4 separate regions of the Homo sapiens genome follow, and regions 2, 3 and 4 are each linked to region 1. Evidence: promoter capture Hi-C in human tissues and cell types (Jung and others, 2019). All regions are on one chromosome and are shown on one strand. The core of a region is centred on a gene start or on the middle of the fragment in contact, and the rest is flanking DNA. Distances in the headings are between cores, read along the strand shown.

The links. Contacts are between HindIII fragments. The study calls those that stand out against the background at their distance.
Region 2: a fragment that was not itself captured here is called in contact with the fragment with the promoter of NUDT8 in region 1 in 5 of the 25 tissues and cell types used here (IMR-90 fibroblasts, lymphoblastoid cells, mesendoderm cells and 2 more).
Region 3: a contact is called between a fragment that was not itself captured here and the fragment with the promoter of NUDT8 in region 1, in 2 of the 25 tissues and cell types used here (hippocampus and mesendoderm cells).
Region 4: a contact is called between a fragment that was not itself captured here and the fragment with the promoter of NUDT8 in region 1, in 6 of the 25 tissues and cell types used here (dorsolateral prefrontal cortex, heart left ventricle, liver and 3 more).

Annotation. Positions count from the first base shown.
Region 1 is chr11:67,628,501-67,631,200 of GRCh38, forward strand. NUDT8 (nudix hydrolase 8) reads right to left here and starts at 1,437. Exons shown (of 4, transcript NM_001243750.2): 1 at 1,218-1,437; 2 at 419-551. The coding sequence starts at 1,411. RefSeq lists silencers at 1-272, 840-989, 1,280-2,069, 2,190-2,359. The HindIII fragment of the contact is 11,433 bases long and covers 1-2,700 here.
Region 2 is chr11:67,766,574-67,769,273 of GRCh38, forward strand. No RefSeq gene overlaps it. Among named protein-coding and RNA genes, the nearest start is that of ALDH3B2, 93 kb to the left of the region's middle. The HindIII fragment of the contact is 3,973 bases long and covers 1-2,700 here.
Region 3 is chr11:67,836,529-67,839,228 of GRCh38, forward strand. The region is part of intron 3 of LOC112268076 (translation initiation factor IF-2-like); the gene reads right to left. It also overlaps the pseudogene ENPP7P7. Among named protein-coding and RNA genes, the nearest start is that of LINC02754, 47 kb to the right of the region's middle. The HindIII fragment of the contact is 3,364 bases long and covers 1-2,700 here.
Region 4 is chr11:67,819,848-67,822,547 of GRCh38, forward strand. All of the region lies in intron 3 of LOC112268076 (translation initiation factor IF-2-like), which reads right to left. It also overlaps the pseudogene ENPP7P7. Among named protein-coding and RNA genes, the nearest start is that of LINC02754, 63 kb to the right of the region's middle. The HindIII fragment of the contact is 6,215 bases long and covers 1-2,700 here.

The sequences.
Region 1 (2,700 bases), core at 187-2,686:
TTTGGTAGTCATGTTCGGGTCCACCTGCCTGTGTCCTCCAGCCATGCTGACTGACTCAGGTCCCCTCAAATGCACTAGACCTGTTCCCTCTGCTTAGGACAATCTCCCACTTGGCATTCAAGCCTGGGTTCAATCCCTGCCTACCCCATGAAGCTTCCCTGACCCTAATCCACCAAACTGAGTGGAGCTGGCCCACCCCATCGCCCTGGGCCACCTCTACTCAGGACACCAGAGCCTCCCCAATCCCTTCCCGAGGGGGTGTGTGGGGTGGTGCATGTGACCAGGCAGGTTAGGGGCACCCTTCCACACTTTGTGCCCGTGGGGGTCCATGACCACTCTCCTGGTCCCTGGTAGCCCAGCTCCAGGGCAGGCACAGAGTGAGTGAATGGGGTGGGGTGGCCTCAGCCAAGTGGCTTACCGGATCATACACAGGCCGCAGCAGGCCCCACACGTGCTCCTCGGGCACTGCCAGGCCCAGCTCCTCCCGGGTTTCCCGCAGGGCCGTGTGCACCACATCTTGGTCAGCCGGGTCGCACTTGCCGCCTGGGAAACTAAACAGACACAAGGAGTCTGGTCCTTGGACTCTTGGGGCCACGGAGAGGTCGGGGTATCGGCAGTGCGGGGGGGGCCACTGGCCCACCGAAGTGTCGCCTGCCTCTGCCCCTAGTTTACTGGGAGGCCCCAGGCAAGCCATGCGACCTCTGGAGGCCAGTTTACCTCCCTGAGCAATGGGGATAAGGAAGAGAGGCCCGGGACAGCGCAGGATAAGAGGGTCTGCAGCAGGGGCAAGAAGATCCTGGGGCTCAGATACCCAAATTCGGCCTATGGTGGCCCCAGCAACACTGACATTGTCCTCAGGATGTTCTTAATTCCCGCCGGGCGGGGCCCGAACCTCTCCGTAGTCGCCGGCAGGGGGCGGCGTCCGCCCTCTAAGCGGGAAACAGCTCAAAGGGGTGTCCCGGCCCAGGCGTGCGCGCAAGGACGCGTACGAGGGGCCCACGCGGCGAGGACGTGGCGCCCCGGCAGGTGCACCGGGGCCGACGGACACGGATCGCTGACCTCTCGCTGCAGCCCTTGGGCGGAGGGACTCTCCCCAGACCCATTTTACGGAGGCGGAAACCGAGGCTCGAAGGGGCTAAGTGCCCTGCCAGAGGTCCCTGCCAGCCCCGGGCTCCTGTAGCCTCCGGCAAAGGGCGAGGAGTTCCCGGCCGCTGTACCTGACGTCGCCCTTGTGCCTCCCGGTCAGGCGGCTGGACCGCAGCGTGTACAGCAGCGCCGGGACCCCACGCACTGAGCAGAGCGGCACGAGCACCGCGGCCGACGCGGGCCGCGCGCGGAGCCGGGCCGTGGCCCCTGCCAGCAGCCGGCGGCAGCGCAGCTCGCCCTCGGCCGACAGGCAGTCGGGCAGCATGTCAAGTCCTGCGCGGCCGGGACACTGAGGGCGCGGGATCGGGCGAGGGAAGAGGCGGGGCGAGGCGGGGCGGGGCGCTCAGCCCGGGTCCCTCCGAAAGCTGAGAGGGAGAAGGGGCAGCCCGCGCGACGCGTCCCGCCTGGGGGGCTGCAGAGCGGCAGCGGCGTCGGGGGGCCTCAGTGGGGTGGGTCTGTTCGTGGGCGGGGCCTTCCCGGAGACGGGGCCTCGGTGGGACTGGGTCTGTTCGGGGGCGGGGCCTGTTTGAAGGCGGGTCCTCGGTGGGACGGGGTCCGTTAGGGGGCGGGGCCTGTTTGAAGGCGGGGCCTCGGTGGGACGCGTTGAGTCCCCCGGATGGGAGGGACGGAGGGCGGCGGGGCGGGGCGGGGCGGGGCCTGCGCGGGAGCCGGACTCGGACGTTACTGCCAAAGGGCGGCGGGGCCTAGTAGGCAATCGAGGTTGGGGCGGGCTGGGGGCGGGGCCTGGACCGGAGCTTTTGCTACGAAGGACTGGGGGGCGTGGCCAGGAGGACTGTGCTTCCGGCAGGGCCGGGCCGTGGCCGGGGGTGTGGCCGCGGGGAGGGAGATGGGCGCGGAGCTGCAGGACCTGCCGGTTGTGTTCTCCGAGATCCTGAAACCACGCGAACCGTGAAGCGCCCGGCGACCGTCCTCGGTCCCGTTGGGTCCTGGCGTTGGGGTGTCTGATGAGGCCCCGCCGGCCCCCACTGGTCCGTCCCTCCCCTAGGGGCTCCAGGATGTACGGAGCCGGGATCCCACGGGGACGCCCCTCCAGGAACCCGAGGTCGATCGGTGCGCGAGAGGAGCGTCCGGCCCAGCCCTCCCTCCGGTCCTCCCTCCCGATACCGCTGGGTGGCGCGCGCCGCCCCCAGTCTTGTCTTCCCCTCTGGCTCCGTCGGACTCCAGCCCCAGGCCTTTGACCTCCTTGTCCCAGCGTCCAGAGCTCTTCTCCCTTCCTGCCTTGAGTCTTGACCGGATTCCCAAATCCCTCCCCCTTTCCTACCTCGGCCCCTGTGGTCACTGACCACCGTGGTTCTGCGCCCTTCCACCAGACCCTGGGCTTGGGGACCAGATGACCCCAGCCTTGCGCACAGCATTTAAACGTGGGGTGGCGGGTGTCCGCCATGCTCTGCTGTGTGACGTTGAGCAGGTCCCGCGCCTCTCTGAGCGCCAGTTTCGATCCTCATCTGGGCAAGTGCAGCCCTGCCACTGGGCTGGAGTCACCACTTTTAATATTACTGTGTGCTCCCAGGGATGCGGACGGCACTGGGCAGA
Region 2 (2,700 bases), core at 148-2,647, 140 kb after region 1:
TCACCTGAGGTCAGGAGTTTGAGACCAGCTTGGCCAACATGGTGAAATCCAGTCTCTACTAAAAATGCAAAAAATTAGATGGGTGTGGTGGTGCCCCACTTTAATCCCAGCTACGCTGGAGGCTGAGGTGGGGAAATTGCTTGAACCCTGGAGGCGGAGGCTGCAGTGAGCCGAGATTGTGCCACTGCACTCCAGCCGGGGAAACAGAGCAAAACCCCATCTCAAAAAAGAAAAACAAAAACAAAAACAAACAAACAAACAAAAAAAACAAGCCTAGGCCCACATCCAGACAATGGAATGTTATTTAGCACTAAAATGAAATGAGCTATCAAACCACAAAAAGACATGGAGAAATCTTAAATGCATATTCCTAAGTGAAAGAAGCCCATCCGAAAAGGCTGCACACTGTATAGTTCCAACTATTTGACATTCTGGATAAAGCAAAACTATGGAGACAGTGAAAATATCCATGGTTTCCAGAGGTCAGGACAAAGGAGGAATGAATTGGTGAAACACAGAAGATTTTTAGGCAGTGAAACTACTCTGTGTGATACTACAATGGTGGATCCACGTCATTGTCCATATGTCCAAACCCACGCAATGTACAACACCAAGAGTGAGCCCTCATGTAAACTATGGACTGTAGGTGATAGTGATGTGTCAATGTAGGTTTATTGATTATGAAAAATATCCCACTCAGGTTTGATATTGCTAGTGGGGGAAGCTGCACGTGTGTATGTGTGGCAGGTGGGAGTAGAGGTTGATGAAAACTGCACTTTCTGTTCCATTTTTCTTTCTTTCTTTTCTTATCTCTTTCTTTCCTTTTCCTTCCCTTCCTTCCTTCCCTCCCTCCTTTCTATCTCTCTCTCTGTTTCTTTCTCCTTTCTTTTCTTCTTTCTTTGTCACCCAGGCTGGAATACAGAGGTAAGATCTCAGCCCACTGCAACCTCCACCTCCCAGGTTCAAGCAGTTCTCCTGCCTCAGCCTCCCAAGTAGCTAGGATTACAGGCATGCACCACCAGGCCCAGCTAATTTTTTGTATTTTTAGTAGAGACAGGGTTTCATCATGTTGGTCAGTCTGGTCTCAAACTCCTGACCTCGTGATCTGCCCACCTCAGCCTCTCAGAGTGCTGGGATTACAGGTGTGAGCCATGGCACCTGGCCTCTGCTCCATTTTTCTATGAACCTAGAACTTCTCTAACACATTAAGTCTATTTAAAAGGAAAAAAAAAATCCCTATCCCCAGGATAGCATTACCTTTGGGAGGAGAGGAGCTAGCGTTAGGGAGGGGAGAATGAGGCGCTCAGGCAAGCTGGCCATGCCCTGTTCCTTGATCTGCATGGCGTGCATGTGCTTTACTTTGTGAAAGCTCACCCAGTTATCCACTTTGGATATGTGAACAAAAATTTTTAAGAAAACTTCACCTGCAGTTATCTGACCTACACTTTTAAACAATAAAGAAATCCTAGGCACGTGGAGCCCTGGGTAACTCATGGAGCAAGGGGGTGCGGAACGCTTTCCATAGCCAGCCTCAGTCCCACCAGGATGGGCTGCTAGGTGACAGCAGGACAGGCTCATGAGGACCAGCCATCACCCAAATGCTCTGGTCCTCCTGGCTACCTGCCGATGGCTCAAGCTGTTTGGTCTACAGTGCCAAAAGCTCAGGAAGAAGGACAGCTAGGACAACCCCATAGTTTCAGCAACACGGAGGCCATCAAGATCCATTTTGAAACCATATGGAATGGGTGGTGGGGACAGAAGCTTGTTTGGAAAAGGTTGAAAAATGAGTGGAGGGGCCTGGTGCGGTGGCTCATGCTTGTAATCCCAGCACTTCGAGAGGCTGAGGCAGGTGGATCACCTGAGATTGAGAGTTCAAGACCAGGCTGACTAACATGGAAAAACCCCATCTCTGCTAAAAATACAAAATTAGCCAGGCATGGTGGCAGGTGCTTGTAATCCCAGTTACGTGGGAGGCTGAGGCAGGTGAATCACTTGAATCTGGGAGGCAGAGGTTGCAGTGAGCTGAGATTGCGCCATTACACGCCTGCCTGGGCAGCAAGAGCAAAACTCCATCTCAAAAAAAAAAAAAAAAAAAATGAAAAGTGGGTGGAAGTTAAGAAAGTCAAAGATGGTCCATGTGGTAGGCAGAATAACGGCCCCCAAAGATGTCCACAGACCTTAATCCCCAGGACCACTGATTATGTTACCAGAGATTGATGGTAAAAGGGACTTGGCAGATGTGATTAAGTTCAGGATTTTGAGTGGGGGAGATTATCCTGGATTATCTGGAAGGGGTTTATATAATCACAAGAGTCCTTAAAAGGAGGAAGGTGGCTGAGTGCAGTGGCTCACACCTGTAATCCCAGCACTTTGGGAGACCGAGGTGGGTGTATCACCTGAGATCAGGAGTTTAAGACCAGCCTGGCCAACATGGTGAAACTCTGTCTCTACTAAAAATACAAAAAATTAGCCGGGCATGGTGGCGGATGCCTGTAATCCCAGCTACTCAGTAGGCTGATGCAGGAGAATAGCTTGAACCTGGGAGGCGGAGGTTGCAGTGAGCCGAGATCACATCATTGCACTCCAGCCTGGGCAACAAGAGCAAGACTCCATCTCAGAAAAAGAAAGAAAGAAAGAAAGAAACATAATAAAATGGAAATGGTTTATACTGGATCATGCTACCTGGGGAATGCAGAGAGG
Region 3 (2,700 bases), core at 64-2,563, 210 kb after region 1:
AGCCTGGGTAACAGAGCGAGGACCTGTCTCAAAAACAAAACAAAAAACGGATGCCATTTCCCATTCCAGAGGTTGAGGTTTAATTGTTCTTGGGTGTGGCCTGGGTTTTGGAAGATTTAAAAAAATCCCAGGTGACCCTAAAGTGTAGATGAGTTTGGAAACCACACATCGAAGGCACACTTGAATGGGGGAGCAGTGAGGTGGCATGGGCTAGCCGGCCAGAACCCAGGGGTGGGGCAGTAGGAACCAGCATTGCAGAGGCCATGAAGGCTGGGAAGCATAGTGTGTGGGGCCCATAAAAATGCTTCGGCATGAATGCTTTAGACCTAAGACAATTGGCTCCCAAATGTGTAAACTGCAAGGCTGAACTGAATGCATGTTTAATGCTTTACAACATTGTCAAGTGATCAGCTGCAACTCCATTCTGAGGGCATGATGCCTGAGATATGCCTGTAATGGGGATTGATTTTAATGAATTTAATATGGTGTGGAGTGGGGCCTTCAAAATAAAGATGTCAGTTCTAAGTTGGTTGCAGAGGTATGGGCAAAGGTCTTAAAACCCCATGGTGAGCAGATGGCCAATCCTGAACACCCCAATCTTAAAACAGGGCTTTTTTTCCAAGAGAATTTTTGAAAATATCTCCTATTTCGAGGGGAGGAACGCTGGCAGGAGAGAGCCAGAGTTAAGCCCACCTGAGAGGGGGTTGGCAGGCAGGGGTCTGCCTGGTCCTTACTGAAGCTTGATACTCAGGGTGAGCTTCCTAAACCAATGCAGATTTGCTGGCCCACTGAGCCTCCCAGATGAGAACCTGCATTTCAACAAGGTCCTTGGTGCAGCAAAGTTTGACATATACTGGGCTAGAACACCCAGGGGACACAAAGGTTCTCTGAAACGTAAGGAAAATAGGCAGGGTGTGGTGGCTCATGCCTGTAATCCTTGTATTTTGGGATGCCAAGGCGGGCGGATCACCTGAGGTCAGGAGTTTGAGACCAGCCTAGATCAACATGGTGAAACACCATCTGTACAAAAAATACAAAAAGTACCTGGGTGCGGCCGGGCACAGTGGCTCATGCCTGTAATGCCAGCACTTTGGGCACCCGAGGTGGGTGGATCACGAGGTCAAGAGTTCGAGACCAGCCTGGCCAACCCTGTCTCTACTAAAAATACAAAAATTAACTTGTGTAGCTGTGCGTGCCTTTAATCCCAGCTACTCAGGAGGCTGAGGCAGGGGATTTGCTTGAACCTGGGAGGTGGAGGTTGCAGTGAGCCAAGATTATGCCATTGCACTCCAGCTTGGGCAGCAGAGTGAGACTCTGTCTCAAAAAACAAAAACTTGCAGAGTGAATTTAGGAAACCATGAAGTCCACAGTTTGATCCAATGCCTTCCTTTTTCTCTTTCTCAAATATTTTGAGCCAGGTACTATCCTAGATTGTCTTGTGATATTTACAATCTAGGAGAAGGCAGGAGAGAGAACTAAGAACAGAGAGCGTGTTCTGAGATGTCTGCTGTGTTTGCAGGTACCTTCCCTCAATTTCCCTACTCACTGGCCATGCTGGAAAACAGGTCTTGGTGCCATATTTGTACCGTGGTACTCCCCTCCCTATACTCAATTGGTTGGCCAGAAGCCCAATTGTCATTCTCTCTCTCTCCCTCTCCCTCTCTTCCCTCCCTCCCTCCCTCCCTCTCCAAGATATCCAGTAACTGACTGATCAGCTGGTGGTGGGCTCTGCTGGCTGCCATGATGGGCCACCAGCAAAAAGGGAAAATTGGTTGTGAGTGAGAGAAGCAGAGATAAGAAAGTCCACAGGGCTGGTAAGAAAGACCATGGGCTTCCGGGTGCGGTGGTTCACGCCTGTAATCCCAGCACTTTGAGAGGCTAGGATGGTCGGATCACGAGGTCAGGAGATCGAGACCATCCTGGCTCACACAGTGAAACCCCATCTCTACTAAAAATACAAAAATTAGCTGGGTGTGGTGGTGGGTGTCTGTAGCCTCAGCTAATTGGGAGGCTGAGGCAGGAGAATGGCGTGAACCCCAACAGGTGGAGCTTACAGTGAGCTGAGATTGCACCACTGCACTCCAGCCTGGGCGACAGAGTGAGACTGCATCTCACAAAAAAAAAAAAAAAAGAGACCATGGGCTTCTGAGAGCAAGAAAGAGGAATTTTGGTTTCTGTAACTGCAGTTTCCATTCTCTCATGGCCTCTCATTTGTTTCTTGTGCCCATGAGTTTGCCTGTTAGAGACAAGGTGTTCTCCTTGTCCTCAAGCTCATGCAAATGGGCTTCTGTTGCTTACAATCTTTGTTCCCAGATATGGATGGTTACTGATGCTCTACTAAATGCTGAAAAAAAGTAGAGTGGAAGCACAGAAAAGCAAGCTTCTCTGAGGGGGTGACGTTAGAGCCCAGTTGGGAGGCAGGAGTAAATGTGCACCATGATTTTTTAGGATTAAAACCAAGTATCTCACTGCTTGGGCACATGTAGATAGAGGTGATTTAACAGTAAACTGTCCCAGTTGTACCCATTGTTAGTTATCTCACCACAGGGATTATGTAGCCCTGAGTTTGCTTAGTGCTTATTTATTTTAGGTTGTTGTTTATCCAAACCTCCTAAATGATACGTGTTTGGAACAAGTAACAGCATTGTTCCTTGATGTTGTGGACCAACCACTATTTTATTACTCAAGACTGGGTAATTT
Region 4 (2,700 bases), core at 37-2,536, 190 kb after region 1:
AATGGTTGTCTCCTAGATCCAAGGTGACTTTATTCATTTTAGAATGAACTTATCCCATTGATACTGTAACTAGAGTTGGCATACATCACGATTGGCAGAACCCGGTCATGTTTAGCGAGATGGAAGTGTTCTGGAAACTCCTCCTTCTTGTAGATGTGGAGGTGAGGGTGCGCATTCTTCAGTGCCTGGTAAAGGGCTTCTTCTTGCCCCAGTTTGGGTAGGGGCAGCCCAAAGCCACCATAGCCCACAATATCAAACTTGACCCAGTCCCTGAACTTGATGTAGTTGGACAAGGGATCTTGTTGACATTGGGTCTCTTCTTCACGGTCATCATCCCATGGTCTCATGTGATGATGACCTGAGGTGCTCTGCAGGCTGTGCTTCTCAGTGGCTCCCACCAGATACCAGATGGTCCTGTCGAGTTGCTGAATCATCAACTTCCTATTCTCTGCCTCTGGCTTGAATCGATGTCCTACGTTATCTGGCTGTCTGTAGTACAGAGTCACAAAGTCAAAGTCTTCCTTGGTGAAGCAGTTCATGACGGTATCGATGTTCTCCCTCTGCTCTGTCTCGTTGTTATTTTGGTGAGTGTAGGACTCCACCAGGGACCGCTTGACAGCCTCACCCTCGTATTTAGCACCTCCCCTGGAATAGTGGGATGATGCTGCTTTCTTCCCCTTCACGTACAATAAGAAAATTCCATCAGGGCCATTTCTCATACCTTTCTCACAATCAGCAAAGCTCGAGTTGTCTACATCTGTGCCCCAGTCCAAAGACATAGAAAATATGTGGTCTTTGGAGTCAGACAGGGTGGAGTTAGATTCTGGGATTCCCCAGGATCTCATAGCATCTACAACACTGTTAGTTACAAGATGTACTATTATTTTATGGGCTACTAAGCAGAAAAATGCCGCCAACGAGACTGTGACATTCCAGTGATTGTAAGGTGTATTACAACTTCAGAGATGGCAAAATGAAAAATAATTCCTTAGAATAGAGGGAGACGGTAATTTCTGAGTTGTTGGTGGTGAATCTGTGCATGTGTGTTTTTTATATATATACACATATATATACATACATATACATGTATATATATGTGTATATATAGACATACCTATATACATATACATATATATATGTGTATATATAGTGGTGCAGTGGTACAATCATAGCTCATTGCACCCTTGAACTCCTGGGCTTAAGCGATCCTCCTACCTCAGCCTCTTGAGTAGCTGGGGCCACAGGCATGTACCACCATACCTATATATATATATTTTTTTGAGACACGGTGTCACTCTCTCACCTAGGCTGGAGTGCAGTGGCACGATCTCAGCTCACTGCAACTTCTGACTCCTGGGTTCAAGCAATTCTTTTGCCTCAGCCTCCCAAGTAGCTGGGATTATAGACACGTGCCACTATGCTCAGCTAAGTTTTGCATTTTTAATTGAGATAGAGTTTTGTCGTGATGGCCAGGCTGGTTTCGAACCCCTGGGCTGAAGTGATCCACCTGCCTTGACCTCCCAAAGTGCTGGGATTACATGTGTGAGCCACCGCGCCTAGCCCTAATTTTTTTTTTTTTTTTTTTTTTTTTAGTCTTTGTAGAGATGAGGTCTCGCTAATTTGCCCAGGCTTGTCCTGAACTCCTGGGTTTAAGTGATTCTCCTGCCTCAGCCTCTCAAACTGCTGGGATTACACGCAAGAGACACTGCACCCGGCTGGTTGTGAGTTTTTAAATTTTCCAGTGTCTCAGTGTTTCTACCTGTAGAATGCCAAAAAGTAGATGGCATCTTTGCGAGGATTAAGTCGACTAGCTTTTTTTTTTTTTTTTTTTGAGAGAGAATTTCTTTCTTGTCACCCAGGCTGGAGTGCAATGGCGTGATCTTGGCTCACTGCAACCTCTGCCTCCTGGATTCAAGTGATTCTCCTGCCTCAGCCTCCCAAGTAGCTGGGATTACAAAGCCAGCTAGCTTTAAGATACAGTGTGGGGCATCACATTTTGGCACGGAGCAGGCACTCTTTCCTTTGCCCCCAGGTGGGACTAAGCCACCACAAGCCTTCCCTGGTGTGTGCAGTGGGTGATGAATGCTTGCCTGCTCAGCACCCACTACATGCTGGGCTGGGTCACATTACTCTGACTCCCCCTTGAGCTTCAGTCCGTGCCTGGTTCAAGATGTATTCACTCAACTCGAGGATCCAGAGGTGGGATGTGGCTCTGGCCTGGCCAGAGGACAGAGGATGCTGCATGCCATGGCTACAGCAACTGGTTCAGCTTTGGGCTCATGTCCTAGTCAGAGCCAATGAGATGTAATCTTCGGATATCTGCTGGGCTGTTGGGAAGGGGACAGGCTGCCCTGCTCATCCCCATTCCTGATGCTGAGGGATCTGAGAAAATCACTTGTAAAATTCGGGGGTGTTTGGAAGAAGGGGAGACCGATGTCTCCTTCTCTCTACAGACATCTGATCAGCTACAGAGCTTGACTGACCTACCCAGAGGCATAATGATATGGTGGTTAAAAGTGTGCTCTGGGCCGAGATCTTGCCACCGAACTCCAGCCTGGGTGACAGAGTGAGACTCCGTATAAAAAAAAAAAAAAGTGTGCTCTGGGCTGGGCGCGGAGGCTTATGACTGTAATCCCAGCACTTTGGGAGGCTGAGGCAGGAAGATCGCTTGAAGTCAGGAGTTTGGGATCAGACCCTATC